2 separate regions of the Homo sapiens genome follow, and region 2 is linked to region 1. Evidence: promoter capture Hi-C in human tissues and cell types (Jung and others, 2019). All regions are on one chromosome and are shown on one strand. Each heading gives the region's core, a stretch centred on a gene start or on the middle of the fragment in contact. The rest is flanking DNA. Distances are from core to core; before and after follow the strand shown. Region 1 holds the start of GALR3 (galanin receptor 3). Region 2 holds the start of SOX10 (SRY-box transcription factor 10).

What was found. Contacts are between HindIII fragments. The study calls those that stand out against the background at their distance.
Region 2: the fragment with the promoter of SOX10 here is called in contact with the fragment with the promoter of GALR3 in region 1 in 2 of the 25 tissues and cell types used here (adrenal gland and dorsolateral prefrontal cortex).

What each region holds. Positions count from the first base shown.
Region 1 is chr22:37,822,013-37,825,657 of GRCh38, reverse strand. It overlaps GALR3 (galanin receptor 3), which reads right to left and starts at 2,276. Exons shown (of 2, transcript NM_003614.2): 1 at 1,893-2,276; 2 at 173-935. The coding sequence starts at 2,251. The coding sequence ends at 188. The HindIII fragment of the contact is 28,947 bases long and covers 1-3,645 here.
Region 2 is chr22:37,983,264-37,986,852 of GRCh38, reverse strand. SOX10 (SRY-box transcription factor 10) reads left to right here and starts at 2,298. Exons shown (of 4, transcript NM_006941.4): 1 at 2,298-2,514; 2 at 2,985-3,496. The coding sequence starts at 3,069. It also overlaps a transcript of POLR2F not described here. RefSeq lists enhancers at 403-1,237, 3,192-3,589. The HindIII fragment of the contact is 28,697 bases long and covers 1-3,589 here.

The sequences.
Region 1 (3,645 bases), core at 1,027-3,526:
TGCTGTTCATATTCACACCCAGGGGTGTCCACTGGGCTGGTGCTCCGCTGTGGAGCGGGGACAAGTCGCTCCACTCAACGCCCCTCAGAGAGCTCGTGGCATTGCCCCATCCCTGGCCCGGTGGCGTCCCGCCTTCGGAGAACGGGAGTGAGACAGACGGACACAGGCGGAGTCCAGGCGGCAGGGTTTATTCCGGTCCTCGGGCAGCCTCTCCGCCGTGGACGGGTCCCTCCCTGGGCTCCGGGCCCTGGCCGCCACCAGCCAGCAGCCTCCCGCTAGGCCGGGCGTCTCCGGGGCAGCCGGGTGGGCCCGAGGACGCGGGGCGGACGCGACGCAAGGCGCGGCGGGCACGGTGGCGGCGTCGGCGGCCGCACGGCCACAGGCGGCGGAAGCGCGCGCGGAAGTGGCGCGAGGCGAGCGCGTAGACGAGCGGGTTGAGGCAGGAGTTGGCGTAGGCCAGGCAGTGTGAGGCCAGGCGGCAGGCGTAGGTGGCCGGGCTGAAGGCGAAGCGGCCGTACCAGAAGCACAGGATGAGCGCGTGGTGCGGACCCCAGCAGAGCGCGTAGAGCGCGGCCACCGCCAGCATGGCGCGCCCCGCGCGGCCCGTCGCCCTCCGCCGCGCCTCGGCCGCCGCCGCGCCCGCGGGACCCACGGCGGCCCACAGGAAGCGCAGCGTGCGCCCGTAGGCCAGGCTCACCACAGCCACGGGCAGCAGGTAGCCGGCAGCGAAGGTGGCCACGTCCAGGGCGCGGCGGCGCGCGTCCTCCCAGGCGGGCACGCAGAGCTCCAGCGCGCCGTAGCGCACGGTGCCGTAGTAGCTGAGGTAGGGCGCCGAGAAGAGCGCCGCCAGCAGCCACACCAGCCCCACTGCGGCGCGGGCGTTACGCGGCGTGCGCAGGGCGCGCGAGCGCAGCGGGTGCCGCACGGCCAGGTACCTGCGGAGGGCGCCTGGTCAGCGGGGCGGGCAGGTGCCCTCCCGCAGGGGCCCGCGCCACGTCCCGCGCCCGGGCCCTGCGGCCCAGTGCGCCTCCTGTGAACCGTGGGGGACGTGGCGGGGATTAAGGGTGTGAACGCGCAAGGTGCTTAGGCCCTTGCACCTAGCAAGGGCCCGATCCCGGTGACTTGTTATTTCTAGGATTATTTTATGGATGCGTCAGATGAGGTCCAGAGAGAAGTGACTTGCCCAGGGTCATCAGCTGGAGTGAGCCTGGATTTGACCCCAAGTTTCAAGCTGTGGAAGCAGATGTGTGCACAGCTTGGCCAGGTGTGGGCAGTTAGAAAATAGCTGGGCTGGGCGCGGTGGCTCACGCCTGTAATCCCAGCACTTGGGAGGCCGAGGCGGGCGGATCACTTGAGGTCAGGGGTTCGAGACCAGCCTGTCCAACATGGCAAAACCCCGTTTCTACTAAAAATACAAAAAATTAGCCAGGTGTGGTGGCCTGTAATCCCAGCTACTCAGGAGGCTGTGGCAGGAGAATCGCTGGAACCCAGGAGGCAGAGGTTGCAGTGAGCCAAGATCCAAAAAAAAAAAACAACAAAACAAAACAAAACAAAAAAACTGATGAACGCATTCGTGAGCTTCTTTTGCGATTCATTTCGCGCTTACAGAGCACTTACTATGTGCCAGACCCTGTGCTGCCACTTGAGACTCAGAGGCGTCCTCTGGAAGTTCACAGTGGAGGAGGGGAAGGGCAGGACAGTCCCCTCAAGCACGCCCTGCAGGTGCCCAGAGGCTGCTTGCGAGGGGTCAGGGAGCTTTTGTTTCCTCCCACCCACCTCCCTTTCTGGTCCCCCACTCTCTCCTTCCTAAGGCCAGTGAGGATCTGTTCAGGACTCCTCCCCCAACCCCCGCCCCCACAGCCCTGCCCAGCCAGGCCCCAGGCACAGCGCACCTGTCCACGGAGACAGCAGCCAGCGTAAAGCTGCTGGCGTACATGGTGAGGTAGATGAGCAGGTGCACGGCCTTGCAGACGAGGGCCCCAAAGAGCCAGGCATCCAGCGTGTAGATGGTGGCCTGGAAGGGCACGCAGCACAGGATGAAGCAGAGGTCAGCCACCGCCAGGTTGAGGATGAACAGGTCCGTGGTGCTGCCAGGCTCCTGCCAGGCACTCGGGCCAGGCTGCAGGAGCACTGCCAGCACCAGCCCATTGCCCACTGTGCCCAGCAGGAAGATTAGGGCAAAGACCACAGGCACTGCCACGGCCCCCACACTCCCTGGGCTGTCCAGTGAAATGTTCTGGGCATCAGCCATCTCCCCATCAGACGGGCACCTGGGAAGAGAAGCTGGAATCCTCAGGCAAGAGCCCCCAGTTCTGGTTGCTTGACCCCGGGATCTAACTCCCCCGACCTGGGTCTGGCCAGGTGTTCTGGGCTGGAAGCTCGTGGGAGATGGAGGAGGGGAGAGCAGAGCCAAAGTCATCGCTGAGTGTCACTGTGTGAGCAAGCTCGTGGTGTTCAAGGGGTGAGAGTTCCTCAGTTTCCTAAGGAACACCCCTGGAGTCCTGCCTGGAGGACTACCTAGGTATTTGAGGGACACTTTCAACCCACGAGGCTGGGGAAGGCACAAGCGAAGTAGGATGAAGATATGGCGATGGGGGGAGGGGCCAAACCCAGAAACTGGTATGTTTTCCTTCTCAATGGGGATCTGAAGCTCAGGGGAGACCCTGGGACATGGGTTTAGGGCTTTCTCTGGCTACAAGCTGTAGCCTTAGCAAAACACGGGTAACATCCCTGAGTCATTGGAGGGTCCAGTATAGTGAGATCATCACAATGGCAAAACTGGGAAGACCGTGTAGGTCACTGCTTCCTCTCTGCACATAGGGAAATTGAGGCCCAGAGAGGGGACATGGGAGGATAATATCACACTCGAAATGGCAGCTCTGGGGCTGTTGCCACCCTGGTATCCTGCCTCTTAAGCTAGAGTGCTCATCTGAGAGCTTGTAACAGGTGGTGCCTCTGACAACTTGTGTGTGTGCACACCGCACCCATGCTCACCCCCATCCCACTCTACAGCCCATGTCTCCTACTGCCTGTGGATCTCCTTGCAGGCTTGAGACCACTGGGGTGGTGGGACAAAGTAGGGGAAAGGGGGGTCAGGCAGGGAGTAGGGAAGAAAGGCAATGTCTGCCCCCATCCCAGCACCCAGCATGCAGTAGGTCCCCAAAGCCCAGGATGGGCAACACCCACCTCCGCCTTGGGCAGTGGGCTTGATCCTGGGTGGAATGGCCGGGCTGGGTGGGCCTCCTGATTCAGCGGCTGCCCCTTGGTGCCTCCCTGCAGGTACTGGTCTGCCTTCTACTTCTCCCCCTTTGCCTTTAAGGCCCCTCCTCTCCTCTGCCCCCTCTGCTGAGCCGGAGTTGGGCACTCCCTCTGGAGTAGCCACTGGCCACTTCCTCCTCAGTCCCTGATTTCCCCCAGGTGGCAGGCTCTTCTGCCTGGCTCTTCTCTGCCTCTCTGCGTTGCTGCTGCCTTTTCCTCTCTCTGCAGCCAGTAACCCATTGATCTCGCTCTCTGTGATTTGCTTTGTAGTTAACCCCTCTGTGCCCAGGGCCCAGCCAGTCTCTGGCACTCCCACCTCCTGTGGCCCAGCCTGATGTGACTCCATCCCCTATCCCTGCACCTTCTTGCTCCAATCCATGTTTAGAA
Region 2 (3,589 bases), core at 1,049-3,548, 160 kb before region 1:
TGCCTGCTGGAGAGCACTGGGTTCCCAGGGCCTGGGATGGGATGGAGGGGATCCCAGTTGCCAGCATGGTGGGCAGGGATGTGTTCGCAGCAGGGGCCCCAACCACACACACACAGCACTGGTCATCTGACAGCCCTTCCCACCCGCCCTGCAGGCCCACCTGCCTCACCCAACACTGCTCAGCAAAAAGCCCAGCACAGCCCTGAGAGGAAGGCAGTGTCTGTGCGGGGACAAGGGAGAGAGAGAGGGAGTGGCCCCTTCTGTCTAGCGTGGCTTCCTGCAGACAGAGCGTGCCCACTGCTACCCCCACCCCCATCCTGGCACAGCTGGACCAAGGAGGGCAAAGGAGGAAGCAGGGAGTTAGAGAGGGGGCAGCTGTGGGACCCCACATTCCACCTCCTAACTCTGGGCTCTTTCCTTCCACAACCACCCCTCCTGCCCCAGGCGGGTCTCAGGCCAGTCACAGACACAGCAGAGAGCGGGGAGGTCCTTTCCTCAAAGAGGAGGAACTGAGGGGTGGAAGGATGAGTGGGGACCCACCGGGAGAGAGAGATGCCAGGCAGGCAGGCAGCGGGCGGGCAGCAGCGGGTGTTGGAGGCGACTGCAGGGCAGCCGGGACACGACGGCAGATGCTCGTCCCTCGTCCCTCTGTCCATCCAGGGCGGCTCCTCTCCGGGCGGTTCTGAGGCCGAGCGGGCGCTGTTAAAAAGCTTTTTATGTGTGTGTGTGTTAATCACATGATTGCCGTTCACCTGTATTTCGAACAAAGACAGCTCACTGTTTCAAGGCCCCGAACAAGAGTCTGGGCACAGGGAAGAGAAGGGAGGCGGGGGGAGGAGGGTTGGCAGCGCCGGGGGTGGCGTCGAGGAAAACTGGGGGGAGATTGTCCAAGGCCAGCAAGCGAGAGAAAGAGAAAACCCTTATCAAACTCCTAATTCACTGGGCTCCGAGGCCCCAGACACACTGGCCCGATTGTCTGGCTGGTTGTGTGTGTGAGCATGTGTGTGTGTGTGTGTGTGTGTGTGTGTGTGTGTTCCAGTGTCTGCTCCCCCCACCCCCAACATGCCTCTGCCTCGTGTGACTACCTCATTGTGTCCCATTTCCCACCCCCTACACCCCTTTGGACTTTCCCAAGCATGAGGCCTTGCCTCCCCAGACCCTTTGCAGCCCACTCCAGACAGGACCCCTTGGGGTGGTCTTGGGGCTTTGCCCTGCTGTTGAGGAGCTCAGAACGTCACATGGTTGCCAATGCGACCCCAGCTCCATTACATAACCCACATACACCCCACCTCGGCCTCAACACCCCGGCGGGGCTGCCCTCAGTTAAGAGAACAGCACTGCGACCTTTGGAGGAGAGGCCAAGGAAAGAGAGAGAAAAAGGTGTCAACGGAGGATGGGCAGGAAAGAAAAGGGGAGGGAGGGAGAGGTGGGCAGAGGAGGGAAGAGGCAGGGCAAGTCCCCACCCCTTGTTGGGGTGGGGGAGTAGAGGACTTCGTGACAATCAGGACTAGGACTCCCCTACCCTCTCCCAAGACAGGGTGAGCCCAGTGTGGAAGGAGCTGGGTCCCAGTAGGTAGCAACCCAAAATGCCTCTAAGACCTACTGAGAGAGGGCCCCCAACCTGTCCCACCTTGGCCTCCTGGCAGCTTTAGTCTTGTGTTTCCACCTTGAACCAGACCAGAACGCGCGTGTGCTGGGTGTCTGCAGAGAAGGGACCAGGGGTCAAGCTGGGGCTCTGCACTTCTCAGAGGGATCCCTGAGAAGTCTCTCTTACTGTGCAGGATGGGGCAGAAAGGGCTGCCTGGGAAAAGGTAGGAGGCAGGGTGAGGAGCTGGGCATCAGTGCCTGGCACACACTAGGCACTCAACAGGATTTCGCAGACGAAGCAGCTAGGGCCAGCCACCCTCACGGGCCCCCAGGACCCTCACCGCCTTCACGTCTCTCCCTAGTCCCCTGCCAAGTGCCCATCCTGCCACCTGAGGCAGACGTTAGGAGTCCTGGTTGGGCCCAATTTTCTTCCATCCAACAGGTTCTGACCCTCCAGCCTACATCTCTTCCTTCCTCGGCCTAACCTCCCCTCCACCTCCCAGACTAAGCCCAAGATAAGCCTCAGCAAGATGGGCCTGGGCAGTAGGGCAGGGAGCTGGGTGGGGGGGCCTGGGCTCCGGGTGGAGGAGCCCTGAGTGTTGGGGATGAAGGAAAGCCTGGAGGCTCCACCTTCTGCCCTTCCCTCCCTCCTCTCCCCTCCCCCCTCTCCCCCTCCTTCCTTCCCCAGCCCTCCGCAGCGGCTCAGGCTCAGTCGCTCAGTCAGTCTCGGGCTGTCCGGCCAGGGTGGTTGGTGGTAAGGATTCAGGCTCCGTCCTAACGAGGCCGTGGCCTGAGGCTCAGGGCCCCCCGCCCCTCCCTCCCAGCCCACCAGCGTCACCTCCCAGCCCCGAGCTGGACCGCACACCTTGGGACACGGTTTTCCACTTCCTAAGGACGAGCCCCAGACTGGAGGAGAGGTCCGAGGAGGTGAGTGCGCAGCCTGCTCCTCCCTGGCCCGCCCAGGCCTGGGACCCTGCTGTGAGGTGGAGAGAGGCGACACCCCGCCCTTGCCCCCCACCTGGCTCTCCTCTAAACCCCGTTGGGGCAGGCTGAGGGAAGAAGGAAAGGTGAGAGAAAAGGTGGGAAATTCCAGGGGCCGGGATTAGAGCAAAATAAAGGCTCCGTTTTTTTCTTCCTTATCATCAACAAACCTCCACCCAAAAAAGGAGGCTAAAAAAAAAGCCACCCACACCAAGAGACGGTTGGGACCAGGTGGTGGGAAGACACAGAGGCGGGACGCACCCACCTAGAGTCTGGCATGTGCGTGGGCCCCAGGGGCCAGATGGGTTTAGCTGGAGCAGGAAGGGCCGCCACCTCGGGGCTGTGCCCACGTCCTGTCTCGGGCCGCCCTCGGGGCTGCGCGCGCGGCCGCTCCATCGCGCCCTCCTTCCATCCAGGTGGGCGTTGGACTCTTTGCGAGGACCCCGGCGGCTGGCCCGGGGGAGGCGGCCGAGGCGGCGGCGGCGGCGGCCGGGGGCGACATGGCGGAGGAGCAGGACCTATCGGAGGTGGAGCTGAGCCCCGTGGGCTCGGAGGAGCCCCGCTGCCTGTCCCCGGGGAGCGCGCCCTCGCTAGGGCCCGACGGCGGCGGCGGCGGATCGGGCCTGCGAGCCAGCCCGGGGCCAGGCGAGCTGGGCAAGGTCAAGAAGGAGCAGCAGGACGGCGAGGCGGACGATGACAAGTTCCCCGTGTGCATCCGCGAGGCCGTCAGCCAGGTGCTCAGCGGCTACGACTGGACGCTGGTGCCCATGCCCGTGCGCGTCAACGGCGCCAGCAAAAGCAAGCCGCACGTCAAGCGGCCCATGAACGCCTTCATGGTGTGGGCTCAGGCAGCGCGCAGGAAGCTCGCGGACCAGTACCCGCACCTGCACAACGCTGAGCTCAGCAAGACGCTGGGCAAGCTCTGGAGGTGAGCACCCGACCGCCCCCCGGGCTCGGGCCCTCTAGCTTCGGGTGGATTCAGGGTAGCCGAGGCGGCCCGGCCTCCTGCACCTCAGAGCGG